Regions from separate parts of the Homo sapiens genome. Here regions 1, 2, 3, 5 and 6 are each linked to region 4. The links are contacts of gene promoters, found by promoter capture Hi-C in human tissues and cell types (Jung and others, 2019). All regions are on one chromosome and are shown on one strand. Each heading gives the region's core, a stretch centred on a gene start or on the middle of the fragment in contact. The rest is flanking DNA. Distances are from core to core; before and after follow the strand shown.

Evidence for each region. Contacts are between HindIII fragments. The study calls those that stand out against the background at their distance.
Region 1: a contact is called between the fragment with the promoter of C22orf23 here and the fragment with the promoter of DMC1 in region 4, in 2 of the 25 tissues and cell types used here (dorsolateral prefrontal cortex and lymphoblastoid cells).
Region 2: a contact is called between the fragment with the promoter of MICALL1 here and the fragment with the promoter of DMC1 in region 4, in 2 of the 25 tissues and cell types used here (dorsolateral prefrontal cortex and stomach).
Region 3: a contact is called between a fragment that was not itself captured here and the fragment with the promoter of DMC1 in region 4, in 2 of the 25 tissues and cell types used here (IMR-90 fibroblasts and dorsolateral prefrontal cortex).
Region 5: the fragment with the promoter of GGA1 here is called in contact with the fragment with the promoter of DMC1 in region 4 in 1 of the 25 tissues and cell types used here (lymphoblastoid cells).
Region 6: the fragment with the promoter of SOX10 here is called in contact with the fragment with the promoter of DMC1 in region 4 in 7 of the 25 tissues and cell types used here (IMR-90 fibroblasts, dorsolateral prefrontal cortex, lymphoblastoid cells and 4 more).

The regions. Positions count from the first base shown.
Region 1 is chr22:37,952,202-37,954,901 of GRCh38, reverse strand. It overlaps C22orf23 (chromosome 22 open reading frame 23), which reads left to right and starts at 1,301. Exons shown (of 7, transcript NM_032561.5): 1 at 1,301-1,454; 2 at 1,744-1,855. The coding sequence starts at 1,753. POLR2F (RNA polymerase II, I and III subunit F) reads right to left here and starts at 1,203. Exons shown (of 5, transcript NM_021974.5): 1 at 1,095-1,203. The coding sequence starts at 1,114. RefSeq lists a silencer at 968-1,037. The HindIII fragment of the contact is 12,825 bases long and covers 1-2,700 here.
Region 2 is chr22:37,904,926-37,907,625 of GRCh38, reverse strand. MICALL1 (MICAL like 1) reads right to left here and starts at 1,329. Exons shown (of 16, transcript NM_033386.4): 1 at 1,058-1,329. The coding sequence starts at 1,203. RefSeq lists enhancers at 1-190, 191-1,006, 1,007-1,822, 1,823-2,638 and silencers at 777-886, 997-1,716. The HindIII fragment of the contact is 31,369 bases long and covers 1-2,700 here.
Region 3 is chr22:38,030,608-38,033,307 of GRCh38, reverse strand. It overlaps POLR2F-AS1 (POLR2F antisense RNA 1), which reads left to right. Exons shown (of 2, transcript NR_199596.1): 2 at 153-1,136. It also overlaps a transcript of POLR2F not described here. Among named protein-coding and RNA genes, the nearest start is that of POLR2F-AS1, 2.3 kb to the left of the region's middle. RefSeq lists enhancers at 1-75, 1,087-2,286. The HindIII fragment of the contact is 4,209 bases long and covers 1-2,700 here.
Region 4 is chr22:38,568,817-38,571,516 of GRCh38, reverse strand. It overlaps DMC1 (DNA meiotic recombinase 1), which reads left to right and starts at 1,334. Exons shown (of 14, transcript NM_007068.4): 1 at 1,334-1,474. LOC105373031 (a long non-coding RNA gene) reads right to left here and starts at 1,017. Exons shown (of 2, transcript NR_134627.1): 1 at 923-1,017; 2 at 159-764. RefSeq lists enhancers at 599-648, 235-745 and a silencer at 1,049-1,338. The HindIII fragment of the contact is 22,042 bases long and covers 1-2,700 here.
Region 5 is chr22:37,607,511-37,610,210 of GRCh38, reverse strand. GGA1 (golgi associated, gamma adaptin ear containing, ARF binding protein 1) reads right to left here and starts at 1,377. Exons shown (of 17, transcript NM_013365.5): 1 at 1,308-1,377. The coding sequence starts at 1,350. RefSeq lists enhancers at 548-657, 372-993, 1,598-1,767, 1,918-1,997 and a silencer at 988-1,437. The HindIII fragment of the contact is 29,756 bases long and covers 1-2,700 here.
Region 6 is chr22:37,983,262-37,985,961 of GRCh38, reverse strand. It overlaps SOX10 (SRY-box transcription factor 10), which reads left to right and starts at 1,407. Exons shown (of 4, transcript NM_006941.4): 1 at 1,407-1,623; 2 at 2,094-2,605. The coding sequence starts at 2,178. It also overlaps a transcript of POLR2F not described here. RefSeq lists enhancers at 1-346, 2,301-2,700. The HindIII fragment of the contact is 28,697 bases long and covers 1-2,700 here.

The DNA.
Region 1 (2,700 bases), core at 52-2,551, 620 kb after region 4:
TCCCCCACCTCCCCGGCTTCTCTTTTCCCCCAAGCACTCAATGTCCAAATGCCCTAATGCTCAGCCACGGGTCATCTCCTCTTCTCTACTGACACTCACTGGGAATGGGGTAGCAATCCCACACGTTTCTTATTTTTATCTTCAGACTAGCTCTCTTTGCACCCACATATCCCACAGGTAATTTTTGGGCTCTATCTTTAAAATAGTAATATATCCAGAATTCAAAACCAGTTCTCACCACCTCTACTCCTACCACCCTACTATAAGCTACTGACTTCTCTCATCTAGATTACTACAAGCAGGCCGGGCACGGTGGCTCACGCCTGTGATCCCAGCACTTTGGGAGGCCGAGGCGGGTGGATCACAAGCTCAGGAGTTCGAGGCCAGTCTGGCCAACATGGTGAAACCCGTCTCTACTAAAACTACAAGCAATTAGCAAGGCGTGGTGGTGCACGCCCATAATCCCAGCTAGTCGGGAGGCTGAGGCAGGAGAATCCCTTGAACCCCGGAGGTGGAGGCTGCAGTGAGCCGAGATCGCGCCACTGCACTCCAGCCTGGGCGACAGAGCAAGACTCTGTTTCAAAAAAAAAAAAAAATTACTGCAAAGGACCGTCCCAGACTTTTATTTAATGCCACCCGGTGGAGCTGCCCCAGACCCTCCTCTGGAGTACTCCTATACTACATACGTCTAGAACTGGGGAAGCTCACGCGACCACCGTTACCTGCTTGCTTGCTTACTTATGGGCCTGTGACCCCTTTTCTAGAAAGTGAGCACGTGGAGAGGCAGGGACGATTGTTCATTCACCTCAATATTCCCACTGCATGATACAGAGCCCGGCTCGCTGGAACATTTGCTGAAGGACACCTTTTCTACGGATCCCCTCTGGACCCTCGAGCCTGGGCCCTCCTGTGCCTCCAGCCGGGGCTGTGCTCCTGGGTCGCCCGCCCTTCCCTTCCTCGGCTCCGCCGGCCCCCTCAGGACCCCAGTCCCCTCAGACATTGCCCCTAGACGCCAGGCTCCTCAGCCGACCCAAGCCTTGCCTCATCCGCCCCTTCCAAGGTTGCCGCAAAGGCCACTCCGCTCCCGCACTCACTTGTCCTCGTTGTCTGACATGACACCCTCGCCTCAGCGACCCCGCTGCGCCCCGGTCCCGCGCGGAGACCCGCAAACAGCGACACTACGACTCGCGCGGCTCCTAGCTTATCTTGCGCCTGCGCCGTAACCCAGAGGAAATCACTTCCGGGAGGCAGGACAGAGCGGGGAAAGTGCGCATGCGCTGACTGGTGTGTGCGCGTTTCTATAGTAGCGAGAGGCGCTAGCTGCCAGCTCCAGCAGCCCAGATCGCGCAGTATTTCTGCGTGGCACCGGTGCGGATGCGGCTGTAAAGCAGTGGTCACCGCCTCCGGGAGCCCACTTCTATGTGGAGAGGGGAGCACCCAGAGAGGGTCTTAGGGTGAAATTTCAATTTTGGCATATCACTCAGTGGGTACTGTTGTGACCATGGCTGTGTTAACACTCCCTCCCGAGGAGACTTCCCTGCCACAGGCGCTGGGTCAGAATGAGGACTGTGTGTGTGTATCTGTGTGTCTGGATGGGAGGTTTGGGCACTGTCGCAATATTAACTGGCGGCATCATTCTCTGGCTCGATCCCCGCTTCCAGACTTCTGGGGGTGTTGGGCGTCGGGGAACAGAGATTAGGGACAGGAGACAGGGGGTGTGTCATTGCGTCTTTCCCTCCTCAGAGTCCTCCCATGGCTTCACAGAAGCAGATGGAGGTAGTGACCAAAGGAACTGGGTTCCGGCGCCGCCCCAAGACCATCACTTACACCCCGGGGACCTGCGAGCTGCTCAGAGGTCAGTCCGTTAAAGCAGCGATCCCAGCCTTTTTGGCACCAGGGACCGGTTTCGTGGAAGACAATTTTTCCACTGACGGAGGTGTGGGGAATGGTTTCGGGATGAAACTGTTCCACCTCAGATCATCAGGTATTAGTTAGATTCTCATAAGGAGCGTGCAACCTAGATCCCTCGCGTGCGCAGTTCACAATAGGGTTCGCGCTCCTATGAGAATCTAAGGCCGTCACTGACCTGAAAGGAGGCGGTGAGGCTCGCTAGCCTGCCGCTCACCTCCTGCTGTGCGGCCCGGTTCCTAACAGGCCAGGGACTGGTACCAGTCCACGGACGGAGGGTTGGGGACCCCTGAGTTAAAGGATGAGAGAAGAATGGTGGTAGTTACCCTCTGTAACTCAGTTCCCCCGTACCTGACCTGTGGCTTAGCACTATTTTCCTTTACAGATAAGGAGCCTGGGGTTCAGAAAGCTTCAAAATTCTACTGCATATGCCTTATTCGGGGGCGGGGCGGGGCGGGGGGGAGGGGAAGGTTCAAGGTGCTACACCTTGCCAAAAGTCAAAGAACTAAAATTTTTAGAGTAGTTAACTCCTATGCATCCTTTAGATCACACTTTCAACTTTCCCGAGGAAGACTTCTGCTCCTCACCACCACAGTAGGATCAACTGTTATGTGCCCTCACACATTTTCCTTCACTGGGCTTAGCACAAGCTGTAGTCAGTTATTTGGTGTCCCATCTATCCCTCCAGATCATGAATTTCATCAGGCAGGAACCGTGCCTGTTTCGGCCCACAATTGTAGCTCCAGCCCCTGAAACATGATGAACAAGTATTCATGTGTTCTTTTACTCAAC
Region 2 (2,700 bases), core at 80-2,579, 660 kb after region 4:
GGTGGAACAGGCACAGAAAGCCTCCATCTGCCAGGCTGGGGGAGCCCTGGCAAGAGGGCTGCATGCGAAAGGGGTAGGGACCAGAACTCTCCTCCCTGATTCACAGGTGAGACCTGAAGTGCAAGGAATGGCACCAGATAAACTCACCCAGTGTTTTAGGAATGAAGGGACGAAAGGAGGAGAGGTTCCAGGGCTCAAGGCAGAGAGAGCAAAGACAGAGGCTCCAAGTCAACTGTTCCGGGGAGTCTGAATGCATTTTCCCATGAGAACCTCATTGGGCAGCTCTGGGCAGGAAGGGGCCATTTCACAACCTGCAGCACCCGGTTGGTGTCTATCAATCGGATCCTAGGAGTCTTCCCAACATTGCCGGCCTGTGACTCCTCTTGCGCGCCCCACCTGCGTGCCCCACTGAGGAGGGCTGCAGGGCCATCGAGCACACACCCGGGAGGCAGGGCTGCGTCCTAAGTTGGGGGGCGTGGGGAAAGCACAGGGTCTGTACATCCATTCATCCAACACCTGTTAGCCGAGGTCTCCTCTGTGCCGGGAACTGTGCTACTGTCCGGAGACAAGCTCCTATTTGGGGGTCAGAGAAGTGGGGGTTCACCTGCACACCCGGAGCAAGGGGCCACCCCGAGTGGGAAGCCTCGGGGGAGAGGGGAGGCCCGGCGAGCCCGTGGAGAAGAGTTTAGGGTAGGAGAGGCCCAGGGCCCCCAAAGAGGGCTCAACACCCCTTCAAAGAGGTCAAGGGCTTAGGGGTTCAGCGATCCTCGGCGGAAATCAGCGCTTTGTGGGCGGGGCCAGTGTCCCCGCGGAGGGACCAGCCTCGGGGGAGAGTTCGGGATCCCACGGGCGGGGTCAGGGCGGCCGGGCGGGGGAGGGGCGCCCTGGGCCGGGGTCTCAGGGACCCGCCCGGCGTCCGGGGCCGTCGGGGGGGTCGGCGTCTCCGTGTCCGGGGGCGGCGCCTGTCACCGCCCGGGCTTCGTGTTACTGAGGGGGGGCGGCGGTCGCGGCCCCAGCCCGCCCCGCGCCGCCCGCTCGCCCGGGGCCCCGCACTCACAGCAGGTCGGGCCGGTGCCGGTGCAGGATGGCGCAGAAGGCCAGGCCGTCCCGGAAGGAGCTGCTCAGGTCGCGGATCTCCACGCCGCGGTAGCCCTCGCACTGGCGGCGGCACCAGGCCAGCAGCGCGCCCCGCGGCCCAGCCATGACCCCGCGGCCCGCCCGGCTCCGGCTCTGGCTTCGGGGCCCCGGCTTGGCCGGGACGGCGGCCGCCGCGCGGGCCCGGTTTCCGGCTGCGGCTGCGGCTCCGAGCTCGGGCGCCGACCGGCAGGCGAGGGGAGGGGCGGAGGCGGGGCCGCGGTGTCCTCGCTCGGGCGCCCCGCGGCCCTGCCCTAACCTGCCCGAGCAGCGCCGCCGCGTGGCCCGGCCCGGCCGGCCGCCGCCTACTCCGCGCTGCCCGCTCGCCTCATTGTGGGCCGGTCGTGGGAGCGGGCGTCCCGCCGCCTCCGTCCGCGCCGGAGGCGCGCCCCACCCAGCAGCAGCTCCGCCTCCAGTGCGGAGCCCACCCCTACCAAGACGGGCCGGCGCCCCATCGCCCGCCCCTCGACGGCGCCGGGCTCCCGCTGCTCCACTGGGTGCCCGCGAAGCCCCCGCACCCGCCGCAAGCGGACCACTCCCCACGATGACTTCACCGCCGCGGCCGCCGCCGCGCCACCCACCGGGAGCCCTCCACCCTTTGGAGGCGGGACACCTCGTGCTCCCATCCGGCCTCCTTCCCGCTCCTAATGACCGCAAATCCCCCCTTCCACCCCTAGCTTGAAACTTTGGGGAGGCAGTTCCCCTGCAGACCTCAGAGCACCCCCCCCCGGATAGCCACCAGCTTCCCTCATCCCGGCTCCCCACCCTAAAGCACCGCTGAGCTGGAAGTTGTCATGTCCACCATCCCCTCCCCCATAGCTTGGCAGGGAGACCCATGCGCCCCTCCGCCACCTTTGGTCCAGGTGTCCCCTAGGTGATTCACTGAGCTCCCCTCAGCCCCTGTGTAAGCTCAGGGATCTCGTCCCTCCCCACTGCGGCCTGCCGGGTCCCCTCAGCCATGGTTAGTGTGGTGGTGGTTTGAGTTCCTATGGGAAGGACCTAGGCCAAGGAGGCCCCTGCCTGGGAGGCATACAGGCAGTTTGTATCTGGCCCTGGAACCTCCCCAAGGCTCATTCTCTATCTTTGCCGTCTTCAAAACCCCCGCCAGCCAACCGACCCTTCCAGCCAGCCAACCCTTCCAGCCAGCCGACCCTTCCGCAGAGGCCCCTCCTGACTCTCCCACAGATGAATCAGCCTCCATCTGCTGCAGAGGTGGTGATGTCACCCTGACCCATGCAATAGTTAGCTGGAGTGGGTATTTCGCTCCCTCCCAAGGGAAGGAACAGGGTCTTAGTCATCTTCATCACCCCTGAGCACTCAGGGGAGTGGAAAGATCAGGCATTTTGGAGCCCTATTAACCCAATCTCCAATCCTGGCTTTCCCCACTCCCTTAGTCATGTGATCTTGTGCCTCCCTGGACCTCAGTTTCCACGACTTAAAAATGGAGATAATACCTGCTTTACAAGGTGGCTGAGAGGATTAAGATGTAAAGTGCCTTACCCTTTAGTTATCACTCATAAATTCTATTGACTCCTGGTACTTGGTAAACATGATGAAATGGACTGA
Region 3 (2,700 bases), core at 69-2,568, 540 kb after region 4:
TAAAATGGGAGAGATAAGCCATGCCCCGTCCACCTGAAAAGGCTGGCGAAGAAAGACAGGGCAACTAGGGAGGACAGCTCTGTGCAAAATCTCAAGATTTTGTCCACTTCCTTTTTTTTTTAATTTTCTTTTTTCTTTCTTTTTTTTTTAAGACAGGGTCTCACTCTGGGGCCCAGGCTGGAGTGCGGTATCATGATCACAACTCACTGCAGCCTCAACCTCCTGGGCTCAAAGATGGCTCACAGATGGCTGCTTTGATGTTTACAAGGAGGTGTTGCGTCACAGGTTGGGAGGTCATGAATTATGTCATGCTCCATGTGGGGGACATGAATTATGTCATGCTCCGTGTGGGGGACATGAATTATGGACGGCAGTAAGGGATTCCAGAGGCAGCTCACCAGTGGCCCACGGAGCCCTTCTCAGCTTGGCCTCCCCACCTCCCACCGTGGCCACCCCTCCTGCCCCTGCAGGCCTTCATAACTGCGCATCCAGGCAGCTTCCTTGCTGAAGCACCCTCTCCGCAGAACTCCTGCTCATTCCTCAAGACCCAGCTCGACTGTCTGTCCTCTGTGACACGTCCTGATTCCAGGCAGCATGAGGGGCGTCCGCCACCCCACGTTGGTTCCTACAGCACACTGTGTCAGTGTGGCATCATCCATCCATGTCCCCAATCAGGGTGTGGACAGGGCCTATGCCTCAAGCATCCTGGTTTCCCTGCCCCATGCCCAGTGTTGGGCCTAAGGAATAGCAGAGCTCAGTGGACTATGTGCCTGACTGTGGGCAGAGACCCCGGTCTCTCCTGGGCACACTCAGCCTCGAGGCAGCAGCTCGGCTCCTGACTGATGGATTCAGGGGCAGGTGATGGGTGTGAAGCAGTTTCCCCTGTCAGATACCCGCTGTGCATTTTTGGGAGGACCGTAACAGTGGAACTCCAGAGCTCTCCTGGGAAGATGGCTGTGGTGGAAGGTGAGAGGACACTGGCCAGTTAGAAAATGGATAAAAGCAGGCCAGGTGTGGTGCAGTGGTTCACATCTGTAACCCTGGCACTTTGGGAGGCCAAGGTGAGAGAATTGCTTGAGATCAGGAGTTCAAGACCAGCCTGGGCAACAGAGTGAGACCCTGTCTCTACAAAAAAATTAAAAATTAGCTGGGTGTGGTGGCTTGTGCCTAGGCTTCCAGCTATTTGGAAGGCTGAAGTGGGAGGATCACTTAAGCCCAGGAGGTTGAGGCTGCAGTGAGCCAAGATCGCGCCATTGTACTCCAACCTGGGCCACGGAGCAAGACCCTGTCTCAAAAAAAAAGTAAAAGAAAAAAAAGAAACTGGACAAAATCTCCAGACTTCAGACCAAAACAGAGGCCAAGACAGAGGGGACTAGAATGCTGGGGAGGGGACTACGGATGTGTTTGGAAGGAAAAATTGTCATGGCCGATGACTAGCCATAGGGGATGAAGGGGATGGATGAGTCAAAAATGACTCCGAAGCTTCATGCCTGGGTCACTGGAGAACAGTGGGGCCGTTGATGGGGCAGGGAAGCGGGGAGGGGTTGGTCTGGGGGCAGCATGGTGACGCGGGTTTGAGACATGGACTCACAGCACTTTCAGGCTGGAAGCAACCTTCGGAGGTCACCAGGGTCACACGTGAGGAAGTGGAAGCTGAGTGAGGAGCTGCCACTCAGCCGGGACACCTGTGACATCAGGCGCCTGGGACAGGGTGTTGGTGCTGGTGGGGACCTGGACAGCGGCACAGGGTGTGAAGTCCGTGCCTGCCCAGGTCCTGCACTGGGCTCTGGGGACCTGGTGGTGAATCAGACCCAGTCCCCACACTTAGGGGCTCACTGTTCCATGGAGGAGACAGACATGACTGTAATTACTACCTGGGCTAAGAGGGTGGTGTGGTGAGGACTCAGAGGGCCAAGTCTACCTTGTGGGGGGACGTGGGTAGGAGAAGTAGCCAAGGAACGAGGGCATCCTTGTTGTCAGAAGTAGGCTCCTCCGTGCCAAGAACATCTCATTTAATCCTTGCAACCATCCTGCAGGCTCTGTGGTATTACTGTCCGCATTTTACAGATGAGTTTGAAAAAGATGAAGCAGATTGTCCAGGGCCCTGCAGATGGAATGACACCCAAACTCTCGCTCTTAACCCCTGCGTCTTGGAAGAGGTGTGCTGGAGCTGAGGCCTGACAGAGTAGTAGGAGTTTCCCAAGGGACAAGGAGGGAGGGGGCGACACCGACACTTGCCAAGACCCGTCTTTCCATTGGCAGGGTCTGAAGTGCTGGTGGTCTGTAGCCTGCTTCCTTACCTCTTGCCCAGGGCCTCTCACAGCTCTTCCAGCCCTCGTCCTGTCCCAGGGCCCCTCATTTCACAGACCCTGCCTTTCCCACCCCCTACTGGTGACAGCCGACTGATCTGATGGATTTGTCCAGCAACTGAGCTGGGGGTGGGGTGGGAGAGGGCCTGTTCCTGATCCCCGGGGAACCACTGACCACGCTCCCCAGGCCTTCCCAGCACAACCCTGCCCCCACCCACACCTCCCCACTGCATGACCTCTTCTTATCCCGGGAGTGACCCTGCAAAGCAAGTCATCCCAGAGAAGTGAGGATGTGCCTGAATCACCCAGTGCATAAGCAGCTGAGCTAAGTCTCAGACCCACAGGCCTGGGGTCTCAGACCATGGCGGTCCCCTGGGCTTGGACAAACCAC
Region 4 (2,700 bases), core at 85-2,584:
CCAAACTACATATGTTATATTTCCCTAAATCATCTTGCTGTGCTCTTTGCAGCTCTTCTGTAGACTGTTGATGTCTTCACCTAACGAGTTGCTCAAAAGTTCCCATAATTATTTAGGTGAGGCCTCAGAGCGAAAGCCTTTCACCACTATCCAGTTCCTCCCCCAAATGGGCATTCATCTCCATATAACAAGGACGACTGTGTTTGGGGGAAAATAACAGATTTGGAAGCACAATGGCAGTTATTTGTTGGCTCTTAAAACAATCCACCTGTTGGGGGGGTGCGTCCTACACAAAATGCCAACTGCTATTGTGGGAATGTTTTGCTATTTATTCCACCAAAATGATTCAGACAGAAAAAACAAAAAGGATCGCCCTGTACTAGGTCTTGAACCCAAAGAACTGTTTGCACAGAGATTCATCCAAGATACATCACAGCCTCCACCTCGGCAGCTGCTCTCTCAAATGTTTCCTGACTCTCCCCAAGTCAGTCTCCGCGTGAGGGGAGGAGGAGGATGCTGCCAGCGATGGCGCTGCTGGCACGAAGGCTGGCCTGCGACTTCTATTTAAAAGCTGAACCAAAATATACTTGGCGTCTGTGGTCTATTTAAAACTTCAAGTTAAGACAGAGAAAAAATTACTCTCCATCCTGAATGGGCCTCGGGTGTCTCAATCACAGACAAGAGTGGCAAATGGTGAGAGTCAGAAAGTGGGAAATTAGGAACGCTGAGGGAGCACGGCCAAACTCTGAAGCCAGCATGAAAACCTGGAGGTGAAAAGAGAAGCCATGGGCAGCGGGGGCGGGGGGAAACGGGCCCGGATTCGACCTTCTAAGCCAAGGCTCCATCTGCAACCCTCGCGACCAAGACCTATCGCCAAAGTCAGCCACCTCTGCTCATCGCCCCTCCCCCGACTCAAGGCTACCTCCTCAGAACCCCGCCTCAGGGTCTTCTCCCGGACTTTAGCGAGGTGCTCAGCTCGAGGGACGCCCCAGCTCAACGGTCTCCCTTCAAGGCCCCGCTCCTCAGCGCGCTCCTTCCACAGCGCCCCTCCCTCCCTCCCTCCGTCATCCCAGCTCGCCACCCGCTGGGGCTCCTCTTCGTTTTCCGCGCCTCAGCCCTCGCCCCGCCCCCTCGCCCTGAGCCCCCTCCAGGCCACGCCCTCTGGTCCCCCCACCTGTGAGCCCGCTCGTTCCCCGCCCTTCGGTCTTCGCCCCGCCCCCATTGCTCCCCGCCCCTCGTCGCCCTCTGTAGGCCTGCTCCCTCCCCGCCCTTCCACCCTCACCCTGCGCCCCGCCCCGGCCCCTTGGTCCTCGCCCCGCCCTCCTCGTTTGGCGCCAAACCCTGTGGTCAACGGCGCGCGGGTCTCCAGGCTCCGTGTTCTAGGCCCGAGTTAGAATCCTGTCAGCTGAGGAGGTCGGGCGGGGCAGAGGGGCTTCACCTTGAAAATCTCGGGGAGACTGTGGGTACGAGGGGGGTAAGTGGCAAAAACGAACAGCGTGCGAAGACTCTGAGGGGACGCTCGTTTTGAGAAGGCGCGCTTCCCTTTCTCGCTCCTTTTTTGGGGTCCCTGGGCTAGTGACTTTGAGCGTTCCGCTCCGACCTTTGGGGAGGAATTTTAGTGATCTTGAGGGATTTCCAACCTCATTTTCAATCGAATCGGACCTGAGTCTAGGAGAGCCCGCCTCATCCTCCTGACCAGGGAATCCGGTGTCAGGAAAATGTCCGGCGGCCGCAGGGGGTCTGCCCAGGCCTCCTGCTGAGGGAGGCGTCGAGGGCGACCCGACCGCGCTGCTGCCCCCACCAGAGGGGACAGCTGGGTCGTCTTAAACCGGGGGATTGGGGAGCCCTACTTTCAATCCAACGGTTCAGTCTATCAACGGCTCCTTGAGAGATGGGGGACAATCTTTTCATTTCATCACGGGGAGAAGAAATGAATGCTGTTTTTCTCTTCGATGGGGACAGTAAATGTGGAATTGGGGTACTCATAGCTAGCCATCTGAAGGACAGTGTCCCCGAAGATCCCATCCGAACGGTCTCGGTTGCCTTCCATCCTTTGCCGTTTGAGGTGCTGGGTGGTAGGACCCTGCTCCTGCCTTAGTATTAATGGTTCGTTCCCTTTGTTCTAGGGTCCAACCCCTGACTTTGGTATCAAATGAGGAAATGGAATCGACCAAGAAAAATGATGATTTGGACCGCATTTTATTGTAATAAATAAACACAATCACGCCTTGTGGATTCCTGAGATTTCTTTTTGAGTCTACAATGTTAAAAACTTTAACTGCTTATCAGCCTTAATATAATATTATGATCCACCAATTTTTTTTTTTTTTTTTGAGACTGAGTCTCGCACTGTCGCCCAGGCTGGAGTGCAGTGGCATGATCTCGGCTCAGTGCAACCTCCGCCTCCCAGGTTCAAGCGATTCTCCTGCCTCAGCCTCCCAAGTAGGTGGGATTACGGGCGCCCACCACCACGCCCGGCTAATTTTTTTGTATTTTTAGTAGAGACGGGGATTGGCCAGGCTGGTCTCGAACTCCTGACCTCGTGATCTGCCTGTCTCGGCCTCCCAAAGTGCTGGGATTACAGGCATGAGCCTCCACACCCGGACCACCATATTTTTAAATCTTAAAAAAATCATGAAACTAGTAAATACTGTGAAAGAAAGTATAGCTAATGTTCTATGAAACAAAAAGGTGGATGTT
Region 5 (2,700 bases), core at 128-2,627, 960 kb after region 4:
CTTCTGCCTGGTTTTAGACTCTCTGGACTCTCAGAAAACCCCCACTGTTTCTAAACCTGAGAATGTTTTGTATGACCCACAGCTCAAGACCTGTGTCTGAGATCAGTTAGCCAGGGGCCCACCCATCCCCCCAGCCCAGTTGCTGCTGAGACCCAGGCGGACACTTCCGGCGTTCACAACGGTCAAGGGCTGCTGAGTGCCCCTTTTCCACCCCCTGCCCCTCTGGTGGCTAGGATGACTCTGAAACATCCCTAGAGGTTTGGTTCTGGGGCCAACCTCATGGTTCAACTCTGCTCAAGCCTGGCTTAAAAGGGGCCGGCCATGACCCCAAACCACGCTAGACAGTTGCCGGTGTGCCCGGGTCCAAGAGGGTTCCCTGAGGCCCTGGCAACGACGGGGTCCCAACAGCAGTTAAAGCCTTGGGAGAGAACCCTCACTAGACCAGGGAGAAGCCAGCCACGGCTTTCAGAGGCAGAGTCCAGGAGCGGGGCTGTGAGAGCAGGGGATCATCAGGGCTGTGGGTTAAGGAGCTCAGGTGGAGGGTTTGCGGGCTAGGAAGCCTAAGCAATAGGAAGCTACGTCTGAGGAGAAACAAGAAAAAAAGGGGTGTAGAAGCCTTTGAAGGAAGTTCAGCAAGAGCTGGGAAAGGCATCTTGGAGACTGAGGGGTTAGGCTGAAGGGAGTGACAGGGAGCTTGGAATTATTAATACTTCTGGAGTCTAAGACTCTCCCAAGCCTGTAGGGTGCGGGGGTTTCTCACTATGTGGCTAGAGACTAGGAGCGGCGGGAGGAATCAAATGGGGCAGTGGGTCCTCCCTTCCAGGACGGGGTAATGAGCAAATGTGACTACTTGCGGGCTCCAGGAACGCCATGCAGGGCCAGAGAGTGGAGGATTCGGGGCCTGAAAATAGTAGGGTCCCTCCCTCCCGGGTGTGAGATGCAACCCCGGGGAACCGCTCGCGTGCTCCTTCCCCGGGCCGCTACTCCGTGAAGCAATGTGAGCCTTGGGGGTTGGAGGCTGCTCTCTCCGTCCCGGGGGTTCCCGGCGCAGCTCACTCGCCGTCCCAGGGGTCATGGCCCAGGGATCCGACAGGTGGGCGGCGCCCGCTCCCACCGCTGGACCGCGCCGGGGCCGGGGTCCTCCATCGCTCCAGGGTCTGAGGGGCCGACTGAGGACACCGCCCCTCCCGGGCCGGGGGCGGGGCGTGAGGAGGGGGCGACCCGTACCCCGCCCCCGCCGGGAAGGGGCCCGCCTCGTGCCCCCGGTTCCGGTTCCGGTCCGGCCCGCGCCCCTCCCGGACACTCACTGATTCGCGCCTCCAGAGTCTCCGGCTCCATCGCGGGCTCCATCCGCCACCGGCCCCCAGCCTCGGCACCGCCCCCCCGCCCCCCGCAGCTCTCGCGGGACCTCCTGGGCACCGCCCTCTGCCGATTAAAGGGGCAACGTCCGAACGGGCGCGCTCGGCACCATAGAGAGGCCAACGAGCTCGCCTAGAGCGTCACCTACTCGCCCAACCCCACCCCCACGCGGCGTCTACGTCGCAGCTGGGACCGGCCGCCTGCTTTTCCGTTCCCGGCGCTCAGGCGGGAGAGGAAGTGGAGATACTGCAGGCTAAGGGCAGCACCATGGAAACCCCAAGGGACGCTCTAACTCGTTCTGCGTCACGGAGATGTCTGTGACCGCCTCCGGAAGAATTCTCTGCGGGCATGTTGCTGAGGGGCTCTGAGGCCACTTCCGGAGCCCTGAGCGGGTACTTCCGCTTAGAGTCGAACGTGGGAGAGTCCCTTAAAAGGGCGATAAGCTACATCCTCATGTACCTTGGCCGCTGTGAAAATGACGAAAATAAATCAGTTTCTTGAGTGCTTACAGTATTCTGGGCATTGTCCTAAGCACTATTTGTAATTAATCCATTTAGTTCTGACTCCTTACAACAAACCCACCAGATAATTAGTCGGCCTGAGGCCGCACAAGTAGCAGAGCTTGAACCCTGTGCCGTCTCCTCCATTCATCCAGCCAACGTTTAATGAACTCTTTGTATTTGCTTTGCTCTGTGATGGGCACAGAAGGAGATAGACAAGGCCAGATATTTATTACAGTGTGATAGGGGAAGCCCACGGGGTAGTGGGAACAAAGGAGGGGGCTCCTCCCCCAAACTGGGGTGGGGTGGGTGGGGGTGTTGTCAGGGGAGGGGTCGTGTCAGGGGAGGGGTCGTGTCAGGGGAGGTTTCAAGAGAAAGTGATACTGTACTTCGCTCAAAGACAGTCGGATTTCTCCACGTAGAGCTGGTGCGAAAAGATATTCAGGGAGAAAAAGTAGGATGAAGGCCGAGGAGGGCGGATCACGAGGTCAGGAGATCGAAACCATCCTAACACGGTGAAACCCCGTCTCTACTAAAAAAAAAAAAAAAAAAAAATTATCTGGGCGCGCCTTTAGTGCCAGCTACTTAGAAGGCTGAGGCAGAAGAATCGCTTGAACCCGGGAGGTGAAGGTTGCAGTGAGCCGAGATTGCGTCACTGCACTCCAGCCTGGGCGGCATAGCGAGACTCAGTCTCAAAAAAAAAAAAAAAAAAAAAAGTAGGATGAGTCCAGGGAGTTGGAAGTATTTCAATACGGCTCCCAGATATCTGCAAATAGATATCTATTTGCAGGAGATATCTTGGAATTAGGCTGGGGCAAGATCACCCAGGTCCCATGTTTTG
Region 6 (2,700 bases), core at 158-2,657, 590 kb after region 4:
GGCCAGCAAGCGAGAGAAAGAGAAAACCCTTATCAAACTCCTAATTCACTGGGCTCCGAGGCCCCAGACACACTGGCCCGATTGTCTGGCTGGTTGTGTGTGTGAGCATGTGTGTGTGTGTGTGTGTGTGTGTGTGTGTGTGTTCCAGTGTCTGCTCCCCCCACCCCCAACATGCCTCTGCCTCGTGTGACTACCTCATTGTGTCCCATTTCCCACCCCCTACACCCCTTTGGACTTTCCCAAGCATGAGGCCTTGCCTCCCCAGACCCTTTGCAGCCCACTCCAGACAGGACCCCTTGGGGTGGTCTTGGGGCTTTGCCCTGCTGTTGAGGAGCTCAGAACGTCACATGGTTGCCAATGCGACCCCAGCTCCATTACATAACCCACATACACCCCACCTCGGCCTCAACACCCCGGCGGGGCTGCCCTCAGTTAAGAGAACAGCACTGCGACCTTTGGAGGAGAGGCCAAGGAAAGAGAGAGAAAAAGGTGTCAACGGAGGATGGGCAGGAAAGAAAAGGGGAGGGAGGGAGAGGTGGGCAGAGGAGGGAAGAGGCAGGGCAAGTCCCCACCCCTTGTTGGGGTGGGGGAGTAGAGGACTTCGTGACAATCAGGACTAGGACTCCCCTACCCTCTCCCAAGACAGGGTGAGCCCAGTGTGGAAGGAGCTGGGTCCCAGTAGGTAGCAACCCAAAATGCCTCTAAGACCTACTGAGAGAGGGCCCCCAACCTGTCCCACCTTGGCCTCCTGGCAGCTTTAGTCTTGTGTTTCCACCTTGAACCAGACCAGAACGCGCGTGTGCTGGGTGTCTGCAGAGAAGGGACCAGGGGTCAAGCTGGGGCTCTGCACTTCTCAGAGGGATCCCTGAGAAGTCTCTCTTACTGTGCAGGATGGGGCAGAAAGGGCTGCCTGGGAAAAGGTAGGAGGCAGGGTGAGGAGCTGGGCATCAGTGCCTGGCACACACTAGGCACTCAACAGGATTTCGCAGACGAAGCAGCTAGGGCCAGCCACCCTCACGGGCCCCCAGGACCCTCACCGCCTTCACGTCTCTCCCTAGTCCCCTGCCAAGTGCCCATCCTGCCACCTGAGGCAGACGTTAGGAGTCCTGGTTGGGCCCAATTTTCTTCCATCCAACAGGTTCTGACCCTCCAGCCTACATCTCTTCCTTCCTCGGCCTAACCTCCCCTCCACCTCCCAGACTAAGCCCAAGATAAGCCTCAGCAAGATGGGCCTGGGCAGTAGGGCAGGGAGCTGGGTGGGGGGGCCTGGGCTCCGGGTGGAGGAGCCCTGAGTGTTGGGGATGAAGGAAAGCCTGGAGGCTCCACCTTCTGCCCTTCCCTCCCTCCTCTCCCCTCCCCCCTCTCCCCCTCCTTCCTTCCCCAGCCCTCCGCAGCGGCTCAGGCTCAGTCGCTCAGTCAGTCTCGGGCTGTCCGGCCAGGGTGGTTGGTGGTAAGGATTCAGGCTCCGTCCTAACGAGGCCGTGGCCTGAGGCTCAGGGCCCCCCGCCCCTCCCTCCCAGCCCACCAGCGTCACCTCCCAGCCCCGAGCTGGACCGCACACCTTGGGACACGGTTTTCCACTTCCTAAGGACGAGCCCCAGACTGGAGGAGAGGTCCGAGGAGGTGAGTGCGCAGCCTGCTCCTCCCTGGCCCGCCCAGGCCTGGGACCCTGCTGTGAGGTGGAGAGAGGCGACACCCCGCCCTTGCCCCCCACCTGGCTCTCCTCTAAACCCCGTTGGGGCAGGCTGAGGGAAGAAGGAAAGGTGAGAGAAAAGGTGGGAAATTCCAGGGGCCGGGATTAGAGCAAAATAAAGGCTCCGTTTTTTTCTTCCTTATCATCAACAAACCTCCACCCAAAAAAGGAGGCTAAAAAAAAAGCCACCCACACCAAGAGACGGTTGGGACCAGGTGGTGGGAAGACACAGAGGCGGGACGCACCCACCTAGAGTCTGGCATGTGCGTGGGCCCCAGGGGCCAGATGGGTTTAGCTGGAGCAGGAAGGGCCGCCACCTCGGGGCTGTGCCCACGTCCTGTCTCGGGCCGCCCTCGGGGCTGCGCGCGCGGCCGCTCCATCGCGCCCTCCTTCCATCCAGGTGGGCGTTGGACTCTTTGCGAGGACCCCGGCGGCTGGCCCGGGGGAGGCGGCCGAGGCGGCGGCGGCGGCGGCCGGGGGCGACATGGCGGAGGAGCAGGACCTATCGGAGGTGGAGCTGAGCCCCGTGGGCTCGGAGGAGCCCCGCTGCCTGTCCCCGGGGAGCGCGCCCTCGCTAGGGCCCGACGGCGGCGGCGGCGGATCGGGCCTGCGAGCCAGCCCGGGGCCAGGCGAGCTGGGCAAGGTCAAGAAGGAGCAGCAGGACGGCGAGGCGGACGATGACAAGTTCCCCGTGTGCATCCGCGAGGCCGTCAGCCAGGTGCTCAGCGGCTACGACTGGACGCTGGTGCCCATGCCCGTGCGCGTCAACGGCGCCAGCAAAAGCAAGCCGCACGTCAAGCGGCCCATGAACGCCTTCATGGTGTGGGCTCAGGCAGCGCGCAGGAAGCTCGCGGACCAGTACCCGCACCTGCACAACGCTGAGCTCAGCAAGACGCTGGGCAAGCTCTGGAGGTGAGCACCCGACCGCCCCCCGGGCTCGGGCCCTCTAGCTTCGGGTGGATTCAGGGTAGCCGAGGCGGCCCGGCCTCCTGCACCTCAGAGCGGGA